Linked DNA regions of Homo sapiens: regions 1 and 3 are each linked to region 2. The links are contacts of gene promoters, found by promoter capture Hi-C in blood cells and fetal thymus (Javierre and others, 2016). All regions are on one chromosome and are shown on one strand. Each heading gives the region's core, a stretch centred on a gene start or on the middle of the fragment in contact. The rest is flanking DNA. Distances are from core to core; before and after follow the strand shown.

Evidence for each region. The method cuts DNA at HindIII sites, captures the fragments that hold promoters and counts their contacts. A CHiCAGO score of 5 or more calls a contact.
Region 1: a fragment that was not itself captured here is called in contact with the fragment with the promoter of EFNA5 in region 2 in 1 of 17 cell types (endothelial precursors); the score reaches 5.5 in endothelial precursors.
Region 3: a contact is called between a fragment that was not itself captured here and the fragment with the promoter of EFNA5 in region 2, in 2 of 17 cell types (M2 macrophages and M0 macrophages). The highest score is 10.9, in M2 macrophages.

Annotation. Positions count from the first base shown.
Region 1 is chr5:103,805,902-103,810,642 of GRCh38, forward strand. The region is part of intron 2 of LOC105379107 (a long non-coding RNA gene); the gene reads left to right. Among named protein-coding and RNA genes, the nearest start is that of NUDT12, 250 kb to the left of the region's middle. The HindIII fragment of the contact is 3,084 bases long and covers 1-2,806 here.
Region 2 is chr5:107,667,727-107,672,331 of GRCh38, forward strand. It overlaps EFNA5 (ephrin A5), which reads right to left and starts at 3,211. Exons shown (of 5, transcript NM_001962.3): 1 at 2,763-3,211. The coding sequence starts at 2,887. RefSeq lists enhancers at 2,364-2,443, 2,844-2,973, 3,684-3,823 and silencers at 2,604-2,673, 3,244-3,293. The HindIII fragment of the contact is 4,319 bases long and covers 2,218-4,605 here.
Region 3 is chr5:103,578,265-103,582,364 of GRCh38, forward strand. No RefSeq gene overlaps it. Among named protein-coding and RNA genes, the nearest start is that of NUDT12, 18 kb to the left of the region's middle. The HindIII fragment of the contact is 1,695 bases long and covers 449-2,143 here.

The DNA.
Region 1 (4,741 bases), core at 15-2,514, 3.9 Mb before region 2:
ACTTTAAAACAAAGAGGAGAGTTTGAAGTATATGTGTTGAGGGTGGGGGCAGTGAGGGATTGGAGGTTTGGAAGTGGGATAAATTCACAACTCAGGAAGATTAGAGACCACAGAAAAAAGCTGGGTGTAAATTTCCTACTTCATCTTTCTGCCCAAAGCCAGCTCTGTTCCTCTTCAGCTATGTGAGTGCAAATAAAAAAGAGAGGCATTGAAAATACGCTACTGACACAATCCGTTTTTCCGTGTTCCTTTTTACAGAATTTGCTTTTGCAACTAGGGAATACGTACCAACATTTTGGAATGATCTTGCTGACAGTTCAAGAAGAATGTAATCAATAGACACAGGGTTGCTAATCAACTCATCTGGTTTTGTTGTTGTTGTTGTTGTTATGGGGTGATGGTGGGGCAATCATATTCCATTTCTATTGACAGAAATCTGATTCAGAAGTAATTATTGGCAGCATCCCTTTTCTGTGCCAAAGAAATGATTTTCTTTCAGTATAAATGCCATAATAAACTTATTTTGTGAGGGAAGAAGAGAGATGAATGAACCTTGGCATTCCCTTGTTTATACTCAGAACATAGCTATTCGTTAATTTTATTATGCTGCAAAGTAAAATGTGCAAGTTTATCTTTTAAAATAACTCAAGAAATGACAACGAATTGCAAAGGATAGCATAAGAATATGGAGGGGCAAAAAGAGAGAATAAAATGTTTTGTTTTCTCCACAGGAAATTAAGCGAAATATATTAAACTTTTCTTTAAAATAAATATTAATGATCAGTAATTCAATTTCCTGTCTGTTTGTGTTTTAAATCCTGCAGCGTTCGTTCTGGTTGCTTTGATGTCCAGTCTGTTTTTGTTATCACTGGGCTAACACAGTGAAAGACAGTGTTGTACTCTGCCCAGGGCTCTAACAAGTCTCTTTGAAACTTTGGAAATAGTTTGCCACTAAAGGACTCAGAAAAATCACTGCCTTTCCTGTTGTTATTTATTATAATCTGTAAGTGGAAAAATTGCTATTCTGAAAGAAAAAGTTAATATATTTAATGCTTTATTCAATTAGACCTATTGTTTTCTGATGGCCCCCAGAATGTTTGGAAACACTCTATAAAATTAACATCTAGGTACAAAAGACTCCCAGTAAATAGTTACAACAACAACAAAAACAAGAAAAAATTAACAAAGCAGCAAAATGAAAACTGATAAATCCTTAAATTTCAGGGGAATGTGTCAGGAAATGTTTCCCATTTCAAATCATAACAGATAGGAAAAATTGCATAGGTGATGTATCATACAAACTGAACTTGAGCACTTTTTCTTTTCTCTAAACGCAGTTCAAAATGGTCTCATCTTTATTATAGTCTTTAAATAATTATTAGGCTTAATTGCCACAGTTCATAGAAATTTTAAAATTAGCAAGTGGTGCTTATCTCTCCGCAGTGCTCAGTGTTAATAAAACATGCTGCTCCATAAACACATTTCACATCATATTTGTCCATGATTATTTCATTGCTTTTCCAAGTACAGATGCCAGCAAACAAAGTGTTGCTGAATTCCTGTAATTACCAGCATTTGCCTCGATTTGGGTCCATGAAGTATGTAGTCAATCTCTATTGTCTTCTGCCTCTGTTTTGAATCTGTCCCCAGTGCAGGAATGTCAAAAACACCATTTAGCAACACAGCCTGCTCAATTTTAAAAAGGGAAAATCACATTCAAGCTACTAATTAAGAAAAGAAGAGAAGTGAGCTGTGAATTAAAAAAAAAAAACTACCTTCTAAAAGGCTTTAACAAGAAACTTGCAACTCTGCTGCATTCAGAAAAAGAATGATCCTTATTTATCAAAGCTAAATTCTAATATAGCAGTTAGAGGTGAGATTTAACTGACTTGTTAATATTTTAAAAACAGCCAAGTAAATGAAAATTCAAGTAATTTCTATTTCTTTTCTATCTTTAAAGGGGAGCTTAATTAACTGATTTTTTTCAGCTATCTAACACTCCTTTGTTAGAAGATTCTTCCATCCACTTAAGATCCTTTTGATATTTTGTTAAATGTGCATTCCTTTGAAAAACTACACTGATGCCCTATCATGCCCAGATATTTGGCAAAATTGTCATAGAGTTGTTTCTTCAATAGAATACTTCTACCAAATAATTTGTCTTAATGATTCTCAGAACATTTAGGATAAATCATGTTGATCACCATTTGATTTTGATCAAAATCATATATTGATCACTAAGCGTAAATAATTTAAAACGGTAAATACCAAACAGTAAGAAAATCCTTCTTCCATGTAATATTACAATATGGAGACTACTTCAGCAATAAGTAAGTGAAAAATACCAGTTGTAGATCTGGAAGTAGAATCCAAGCAGGCTCTATAACCATATGTAGTTTGAGCACAGGAATTATGTCATAGGTTATTCTTTCTAAATTAATTATTTATTACTTTAATGCTATATGTAGATTGATAAAAAATATGAAAAGGTAAGTATGCTCAGCCATACTTTGCTGATTTGGTCTAACAGAGTAAATTATAGCAGGAACAGAGTTCTGTTAAACTATTTGAATACCTTATGCTTCTTTATGTTTCCCATGATACTTTGAAAGTGGTAGTGTAGACAATTGCCCTTACTTCTACTGTCATTCTCCTAGAAATAAGAAATACATTAAAGTCTATCAATAGCTCACCATGTTTACGATCTCACTTTTTCTACCTTAGGACCTAGGCCCAGGGGCACTTACAGAGGCCAGCCACTAGATGCTGCTAGTATTCTTTCCATTGAGTAGTATTCTGCCAAGCAAGCTTTCCATTCCAGGATGTCAAAAGACATTGAAGTTTTTCTCAAATTGGCGCCATTTGACCTTCACCCATAGCTGTAGCTTCGTTGCTATCTACAGTCTATTCCTTACCTTGGGTAGCAGGTATTTAAAGAGGTCTAATTTTTGAGACTTACCATTAAATCATCTTGGAAGATATTTTTCCAGTCCTTATCTGAATTTTATTTTCCTACATGCCTGCATTTCTGTCTTGGACCTCATGCAGTGCCCATGAAGGGCTGGATTCTTGGCAGTCTCCCTTCTCCCTTCTCCTTTTACCTTCAAATTACTAGAATTTTACTTATCAACTTGATTTTGACAACTAGGTCCCTGCTACCTTTTGAGTGTTTGCCCAGCCTTCTAACTGCTGACCCATCTGGATTTTCTATTAGTTAAAATACATGTTCTATGTATATATTCAAAGTTAGGTCAGATAGCAGGGCAATATGGCTTCACTTTGGTGCTCAAATAAATACACGATTTTAACTTACTAGCTGGCTGAAAGAGTATCTCTTTTTTATGGCCACTCTTCACTCTCATCTCTTTCCACCAAGCTGTTTAGTAGAGTAAAATAGATGAAGATAATGTTCTCTGATAGAGGGAATTGTTCTTTGTCCAAGATTTTGGAAATAGTCTCTCTTTTCTATGATAATATTAAAATTTTGAGTCTTATTTGAATGAATTTTGTTGCCTAAAAAATTACAACTTTAACAGGTACTTATAATGAGATATTTTCTAAAATAGTAACATATTTGAGATTATTTTGGTAAATAATATATTTTTATTTCAAATCTCAGAAAGATATTGAACTAAAACTTCAGGCCGGGCGCGGTGGCTCACATCTGTAATCTCAGCACTTCAGGAGGCCAAGGCGTGCAGATCACGAGGTCGGGAGATCGAGACCATCCTGGCTAACACGCTGAAACCCCTTTTCTACTAAAAATACAAAAAAAATTAGCTGGGCGTGGTGGCATGTGCCTGTAGTCCCAGCTACTCAGGAGGCTGAGGCAGGAGGATGGCGTGAACCCCGGAGGCGGAGCTTGCAGTGAGCCGAGATCGTGCCACTGCACTCCAGCCTGGGCGACAGAGAGAGACTCAGAATTAAAAAAAAAAAAAAAAAAAAAAGGCATGTTTTATATAATTGGATAAGTAGTAAATGGGTTAGTAAATTTCTGACTTTTAAAATCAACTAAATACTGAACATTTCAATTCCAATATATATGTTAACATAAAAATCACATTTGAATTGAAAGCTAAATGCCAAGATAGTTGCCAAGCCCTGAAACAAGTTTTGTATTTTTTAACTTGTTCAGGAAAAGGTATTGGTCTTACAACTCCATGCTTGCAGATGTAGGGATTGGTTGCAAGTAATAATAATAATATAAAATTCCCAGTATAAGCATACTAGGAAGACCTGACCAGAGATGTCCTAATAAACCAGTAAATATATGTATACCACTATGACTAGTATATAAAGCAAAACTCTGAAAGATACTCTGCTGCAGGAAAAATTGGAAATGTTTATGCTTTTTATGGGTTTGGGTTTTTAGCTTTAAAAATTGATACTTGTTTAGTAACATAATATCTAAGGGTAAATCACATCCTGATACCCATGTTTCTACTTGAATAACAGAATTTACATTTATATTTATCCTCCAAATCATATAGCTCAGGTTTACACTCCCAACAAGGCTCCTTCTCCATAAGACTTTGTATACATTTAATAATACTTCTTCAAAAATAAAGCAGATGTATTTACTCTAGCTCCTGTAGTTCTAATTTTGTTGAACTAAGCATGTAGTTCTAAGCATGAGATGGCTTAATGACATTGGTCTTTTTTGTGTGTGTGTGACAGAGTCTCGCTCTGTTGACAGGCTGTAGTGCAGTGGTGCTATCTCGGCTCACCTCCACCTCCTGGG
Region 2 (4,605 bases), core at 1,961-4,460:
TTTCAAAAGATTGAAGTCTTACTAGTTTAGCAAAATTTTAACAGATAGGTTCTATATAAAGACACAAAGCATGGCTAGCTTACTTTATGAAATAACATACAGGAAAAGGAATTGCACAACAGTGAATTTATAAAATTTACTAAACCCGTGGAAATTTTCTGAAATATTTTCTTACTATTGTTTGTGGAAAACTGTTAGTTTTTATTTTTAAAATACTTATTTGGCATGTGGCCTCTTATATCCAAGTTGACTTTTCTTAATGCATCAAAAGAGCAACATCTTATTCAACACTTCAGAGATAAAACTGCCTACTTTTAAAATATTGTTTTTAAAGTAAGTTTTTAACTGTGATAACATACCAAGATAAATGTGTCCATAAATTCCTAAGAATAATAAGTGTTAGGGCTGTATCTCTTGGGGTTAAGAGGGGTACATCATTCTTTCTTTTGGCCATTATCAAACTGATAATGATCAAATAGAAAGGTAATTCTACAAACCTGAAGTTAGAATACCGATTTAGAAATACTCTTGGTATTTTAAAATTCTGCAGATTAACTTTGTCTGGGCAGGTTCAAAGCCTCCATGGCATCCTGAGCAGAAGAGTTTTCTGCAGGCAGGGCAGATCTATTAAAAAACATGACCTGTGACAAAAATCAATGTGCTAATCTCAAACCAAACAACAGTATCAAAAGCACAAAACAGAGATAACCTAAGATAAAATGTCCTCAAACTAACTCAGACTAGCTTGACAGGTTAAGAAGGGGGGTTAAAGTAGGGGTGTTGCTGGTTCTTTCCGTTTTAACCCAGGAAGACTGGAACACCCAAGTATCCAAATAAATGAATGCCATGAGAAAAAGATCACAATGTGGAGCTTGGTGTGGGAAAGAAAAGACAACCGAGAGCAAGATATCCCAAATTCAAAGAAACTATTTCAGTGTTGCTTTATTTAATAAGGTGCTAAAGTTCAGAGATACAAATTTCTGCTTCGTATATGCTGCCTAATAAAGCACAAACGGGGAAAAAAAACTAACCAACATAATGAGACTGGCTTTTAACACCATCACAACTGGAAAGCTTGCTCTATTTGTCTTGTCAGCTTTAATAAAAGGCATCTCTCCTCTGGCAGGATGGCTTCTTTTTCTCTTTTCCTAATAGTGGTAAGTGGCATGTCAAAGAAGAAATCGCTTCCCATTCCACCACCCACCTCCAGGAGACTCTTGTTTTTTGAACCAAACTTTCAGGAATATCTCCACTCCTGTTCAGCGGTTCATTTAGGACTTGGGCGGCTACCTGAGTAAGACTATCTTGGACTAGCGGGATAGGGGGAACTCCCTCCTGGTTCTGTAACCGGCGGACTGCTTGTGGGGAAATCTTCCCATCTTCATCTGCGCTGACATTATTCAAGCAGGGAATCCCTCTCTTGCCTGCATGCTGAGGGGAGGCTGGAGGCAGGCGGAGAGGGCCCGCAGGAGATAGAAAAAACTGGAGGCGCCCACCGATACCCTCTCTCCTGGAGCCCGGGGCGCGCACCAACTCTTAGGCTAACCCCTCGGCCTCCCGCCTCTCTCTTCCCAACTTCCACTCCAGCCCAGTGAAAAACCTGTGACTTTAGATGCAATCGGTACTATTAATAAATAGCACCTAGGAGGGCACCGAGACCGGCACACAGCTGGAAGCTAGCCTCTGTCCCAGAGAAAGCAGTGCGGTATGGGCCTAGCGGGGCCGACTTCTGTGCACAGGCCGGGAAGCAATAAAGGTTCGGAACTGCTCCAGACCCGGAGGACCCCGCCGGGCACTCTGGATAACCTCCCCACTCCACTTCCAGGGTCCGAAAACACGGGACGTCTGCGACTGGCCGGTGTCCAGCACGCGCACTAGGACCGCCCCCGGCGCCCACCTCTAGTCTCCCGCATACCCGGCGGGCTTCGGGACGCCTACAAATCGGTTCCAGGTAATCGCGCGCGTTCCTCCGGCAGCACATCGCCAGGCCGCGGGCGAAGGGCTCCCACCTCCTGGCTCGGCCAACTCTGGCAGCTTGTTCTGCACACATGACGTAACCCGGCATTAGATCAAACTTTCTGGCACCTTGAACCCACTGGGGTGGGTGGAGGGATGGAGAAGATGGGAGAATCCTCTCCACTGCCAGGCGCGCCGGGCCCAGACTGACTCAGGGGCCGAATGATTTCCTCGCAGTTGAAGAGGAAAATAAAAACCTAAAGCTTCCGCTTCCCAGCCCCCCTCACTTCCCCCAGCCCGTGCGCTCTCTCTGCGCGCACCGGGAAAAGAGAAGGGAAAATTAAAATTAAAAAAAAAAAAAAAAAAAAAAAAACTTTGGGGGATGTTTGGCGGGTTCTCTCCGCAGTCCCTGCGGACCCACGCTCCAGGAAGGAGCTCCCGGCTGCGCACACTGGGGGCTCCCCGCGCCGGGAACCGGATGCCAGCCAGATGCCGGGGCTGGGAAGCAGAGAAGTCCCTACTCCCCGGCTCCCGCCCTTTTCCGAGTCTCCCGGCGCCCCGCAGAAGCAGTTGGTCTAGGCAGCCCCGGGGACTCCCAGGGGTACCTGGCCTTTCCGCGGCGGCTTAACAAAGAGGGGCGCGACGCGAGCGCTTCCCGCCGACGCCTCAAGCCATCAGCGCCCGGGCGACGCAGGCTCCGAGGGTGCGCGCCGCCAGCGGTTGGTGCGCGCCGATCCCCGCCGCCGCTCCTTCCGCAGGGCCCCGAGGCCCGGGTAGCCCTGGCTCTCCGCCTGTTATCGGCTTACCTGGGGTTGCTGCTGTTCCAGTAGACAGCGTAGCGGTCGGCGACGGCCTTGGAGCCCGGGTCCTGGCTGAACACACACATCCAGAGCACCAGAAACACCAGCGTCAACATCTCCACGTGCAACATCACGCCTGGCCAGCGGCGGAGCCCCCGACGCGCCACTCCGGGGAGAGAGCGGGGATCCGGAGGGAGGGAGGCAGGCAAAGGGACAGAGAGAGAGCGGGCGCCAAATAAATATGAATAAATAAAAATGAAAGTGGGCGAGAAAGGAAAGAGGCGCCCACCAAGCTGGGGAGGGGTAGGAGAGCGAGAAGAAAAGAAGGCGGTGGGATGGGGGGTGATAAAGACAAACTCGCACCCCCACTGGAGGGTTCAGGAGGAAAAAGGAATCACAAGATGGAGAGAAGCGTGCGTGTGTGTGGTGGCGGCGGCGAGGGCGGGGGAAGAGGTGCCAAGCTGTGTCTCGGGCGGCGGCGGCAGGCCGGTCACCCCGGGAGAGGGAGGTGCGCGCCGGGCCGGGCGGCTGCAGCGCGGGTCGGGGCAGGCGGCGGCGCGCGCTGCACAGTCACCGGGAGTTGCGCGCCGCAGCCGCGGGGAGACATACACCGGCCCGCCGGGCCCGGCTCAGCGTCGGCGCAGCAGGCTACGCACGGCTCCGCCACCGCCCGGGGCCCTCGCACTGCGCCACGCTTCGCTCCAAGTTACTTTGGCGGCCGGTGGGAAACTGCAGGAGAAGGGCGACGTGCTGATAGAGGGCTTCGCGCTTGTGGTCCCGGGAGTCTGAGAACCCCTTTCCTCAGCCTCCTCTGTGCCTTAGCGGGGCGACCCCCAGAAATCTCAGAGGAGTCGTAAGTGCTGCGGTACCGGGCGGTGCGCCGAGAAGGGTGGGGATCCGGAGCCGCAACCCAGCCTTGTCGGTGTCCTGGAACTGGTTAAGCGGCAGCTGCGCCGGCTTTCGAAGCGGTCTTGCCTCGAAAACCTCAAAGAAAAGTTTGGCTCTTCGCGTCTTCCGGCAGGTCCCCCAGCAGAGTCGGAACGCGGCGGTAGCGGAAGAGGGCACCCCGGGGGCTGGCCGAGCCTCGGGGATTTCTCGCGCGTGCTTTCCTTGGCTGGGTGTGGGTGCACCACAGTGAATGAAGAGCAGAGGTTAAGACCAGCCGGCCTGGCAGAGCTGGGATTCCTAAACCTGCAAGACGACGCCAACCCAACTGTTCGGCTGGAGAGCGGGAGGGGAAACAATCACTTTCAAATGGATCCCTCCAACTCCTGGATGGGCCGATGTCAGTCTCCGATCGCCTTCCGAGAGGGAGACTGAGCCCCCACACGCGGTGCCAAGAGCCCGGGGTGAGCTCTCAGAAGTGTCCCTGCGACTCCAGCGGGTCCAAGCCTAGCAACTTGTAGAGATGCATCAATCAGTTTGAAATGGGAAAAGAGGAAAAAAAAAAAGCGCACGAGCGAGTGGCACCTCCCCGATGACTACATCAGAAAACCTTCCCGATCCTCCCGCAGCTGCTCCTCTTTCCCTCCTTAGGCACAGCAGCAACAGAGGTGAAAACCACAAACCGAATCCTAAAACCCCTACCCAGGCGGGAAAATAAATAAACTTGAGTGCAGCAGCAGCAGCACGAGCAGCCCAGGAGGAATTGAAACGACTGGCAAGAAGTGGAAAGGGTTTTGTAAAAGTCAGTTTTGCAAAAGAGGGGGAAAAAAAGAGAGCGAGAGAAAAAATGCTTTATGGGAAAAAAAATCTCCTCGGGCACGCCCCCTCGTTAATGACTTGCGTGGAAAGCCGACAGCGGCGGCGACCCAGTGGCAGCAGCCTCAGCAGAGCGCGAGGCCGCACG
Region 3 (4,100 bases), core at 46-2,545, 4.1 Mb before region 2:
AAGTTAAAGTAACAATGAAAGAAACAAATTGTAGCAATGGAAGTAATGGATTTAGATGAACAATGTTTGTATTAGTTGATGGCCTTCACAAGATTTTTACCAATATGAAAGTTCAATAATTCAAGTGAATGGAATTACTTAAAAGATATACTTGATGTGCACTAATGAAATAATATTTTCTTTTCTTTTGTTTTCCTGGCATAACTGTGTTTTATTTCTTCCCCAAATTCTTTTTTGCTTCAACCATATAGGTGTAATAATATTTGGTTGAAGTGGAGTTTCAATACTGCTTGCCTAGGTTCAAAACCTGGCCTTGCTACTTATAAGTTGTTGTTTAGGGGCACTTAATCTGTCCCTCAGTTTCTGTTTTTAAAATCAGAATAATAGAATAATTAATAACTTTCTCATAGAATTGTTATGAAGATTAAATAAGTAAACACATGCAAAAAGCTTATTACCATATGTAATTTAAACAACACTGGAGTTATTTTCTAATCTCTTTATTGTTATGGACATTAATGTATTTTTGTTGTTGAAATGGGAGAGTGTTACAAAAAAAAGTTAGCTGGGTGTGGTGGCACGCGCTTGTAATCCCAGCTACTTGGAAGGCTGAGGCAGGAGAATCACTTGAACCTGGGAGGCAGAGGTTGAAGTGAGCGGAGATCGCCCCACTGCACTCCAGCCTGGGTGACAGAGTGAGAGTCCATCTCAAAAAAAAAAAAAAAAAAGAGAGAAAAAAGAGATGGGATAGTGTTTATTCAGTGAGCACCTAGAATTAAAAAGTGAATTGCGTGAATAAATTCTCTCATTAACATGGTTTATTGTGGTTGTAATGGTGGGGTTAGTAAAGAAGTAGAGATAGTCTCCTAGTCTCCAAAATGACTTGGCACTTGAACAGTTTAAAGTACATACTAAAGTTTGTAGAAATTGTATGCAACCATCACTGCTGCCTCTGTTGTGATCATGTGGCCCTTCTTTTAGATAAGGAGTTATAGCAATACATTATATAGCATTGGATTTTGACCTTTGATATATAAATTCTGGTCATCTCAAGGTATCTTGTAGGGTTAATACAGTTGTAAGTAATAATAATTATAATACATTTAAGAGATTACAACATACATTGTGTTATCTGGTTCCTTCATTATGCAGTAGGTACAGTTAATTATCTTCATTTTTCTGATGAAGGCTCACTGGCTTAGAGAAGTAAAATGCCTTACCTGAGGTCACACAGTTAATCATAGTGGCAGGATGTATAGAATTGGCCTCATGTCTAATTTATATTTATTTATTAACTATTTCTAGTTACCAAAACTCTATTAAAAATGACATTGTCTTAAGAAAAAGGTACTTACACAAAAGTAGAGTTAATATCTAGATTGTATAAGAACTTAAAGTCACTGGTGTTATAAAATAACAAAGAAAGTAGGATAAGTATTAACAATTGCTTTAGTTTATACTATTTGAAAGACTCAGAATCCTTGGCATCAGGTTGTTTTCATAATAAGTAAGGACCATATAAAATGTGTCAAGACCTTTTTCTCAATTGATATGTTTTAATAAGTTTTATAACATTCAGTTTTTAGTACAGTCTATATACTAAAATTGGAAAATTAGAACTTAGTATAGTCTATATACAAAAATTAGTATGTATAGTCTATCTACTAAAATTAGTATAGTCTATCTACTAAAATTAGTAGATATAGTCTATATACTAAAATTAGTAGATATAGTCTATCTACTAAAATTAGTAGATATAGTCTATCTACTAAAATTAGTAGATATAGTCTATCTACTAAAATTAGTAGATATAGTCTATCTACTAAAATTAGTAGATATAGTCTATCTACTAAAATTAGTAGATATAGTCTATATACTAAAATTAGTAGATATAGTCTATATACTAAAATTAGTAGATATAGTCTATATACTAAAATTAGTAGATATAGTCTATATACTAAAATTAGAATGTTTTTGAAATATGTTTTAAGAAGAAATATGTATTTTTGATAACTGTATTGGCAATTCTTAAAAACGTGGAGGAAGTGATAAATATATCATTTGGTAATTAATTTGTGTAAAGACCCCTAAAATCATTAACAGCAGGATACCTTGAAAATTAAAAGAGCTTATTTAAAATATAAGCTTATTAGCAATAACAAATGGACTTCAAAATGAAATATTTACTTTCTTACCCATTAGCATTTTAATAATGAGAATATTTTAGACATGTACCAGTTTTTACCAGGTTATACTGCAGTGACAATCGACCTCTAAATTTCAGTGACAACAAAATAGATTGATTTCATGTTATATGTCTATTGCAGATTGACATGTAACACAGTCTCACATTATTGTAACACAACCTTACATTGTTGTTCTTTCTTGTATGGTCTAGGGAAAGGAAAGCCAAGGTGGCATTAAGGTTCCTGCTTGGCAATGCCACAAGTCACTTGGGCTTATTTTGGACTGACCAAAGCAAGTCATGAGAAGCAGTTAATATTTTGAAATAATATCACAATCTACTACAAACACCATTATAATTCCTAGGCATGGACCCTGCTTAAGATAAATATTTCAGTTTTGTGTGTGTGTGTGTGTGTGTGTGTGTGTGCATGTGTGCACGTGCATGCACACTTATATCTAAAATTGTATCTCATGGGTAATAGCTACATTTTTCAGCTTTTTTTATTGTTGGCTGGGATTCTAATTTTTTTTGTATCAAAATTTTCCCTGTATTTTTGTAATGTTAACATCTTATTGGAGTCAAGATTTTTGGCTTCAAGAAATAACATCCCACAGCAATCTAGTGTATTACAATGGAGAAGGGTTTATATGGATACAGGGGAATGTTGTAGAACCTACGGGTAGAAGTACTGCTGTGTTCATGTGGAACTAGAAAGTTGTCAGGCATTACTATTACTCTCTGTCTCTTTCTGGATTTTCTTCTTTCCTTATTTCTATGTGTGTGTTTCCTTCTTTGCTCTTTTCAAATGGTCATTTTTCCCTGCTTTTTCATTCATTTGGTACTCAGTGACAGCACCATAGCCCCTGAGTTTACCTGTCTCAACTTTAGAAAACATCAAAGACTCGACCATCCTTTCTGAATCCCAATTCTGATTTCCCAAAAGACAGAAGCACCAGCTGGTAGGCTGTAAGTGACCCACTATGTAATTTAAATCACAGAATTTTAATCTCTATGGATTAGGGGAGGTAGGAGGAGAAATTTGTAGAAAGAAGATTGGACAGACAATCCAAAAGCTGTCTATTATTCAAAGGTTAAATTTCTTATTAAAATAAGAAACTTTAGAATTTTTTAAAAAATAATTATTTTCATGAATATGTTTCAAAGAAGTTTTCAGTTATTTTTTTTTTCTTACTGTTGATAGGGAAATCTGATAAGCACACTGATAAAGCTTTAAAGTTAATGAACAGGGAGTTCTGAAGCCGTTAAACTGTAAAAGAAACAGCTATTGGATATAGTCATGTTCTTTTATACACTTTGTTCTTTCCTTAACCCAGAGGCAGTGTTAGGTCAATGCTCCAACTACACAACTAGCCATCTCCCGTAAGACCCAAGGCAACTGTTTCTCTAGAATAAGGGAGAAAAAGAAAGAAATCCTCACAATTCTTTAAAAAAAGTATTTCAATTTTTCTCAAACATTAAATTGTGCATTAAGCTTGTCTAATATAATTTCAATGTTCTTTTAAATTCCATGAAGTTTAGCTGCACTGGTAAAGCGGATTTAATATATCAGAACATTATACTTTTTTCTCCATCTTTTTATTTAGAAAGTTTGTAAACCTAAGAAAGGTAGAAGGGCTAAAACAGTGATTTCCCATATATCCTTCAACTGGATTCACCAATTTTTGCCACATTTGCTTATATCTTCCTACATGTATACTTCTATCTCCCTACATACATTGAACATGGTTTACTCAACTAAAAGAAGACCAGTTAATTCCCTCTGGAAGAACTTTATTGCCTTCACTTTATTTTGTACTGCATCTCCTGCTTTTTTGTCACATGGAAAATGCTCTTGTAAAAAATATATCTCAATCTAATGTGAATAACCAAAATGGCTCAGGGGCCTTTTCAG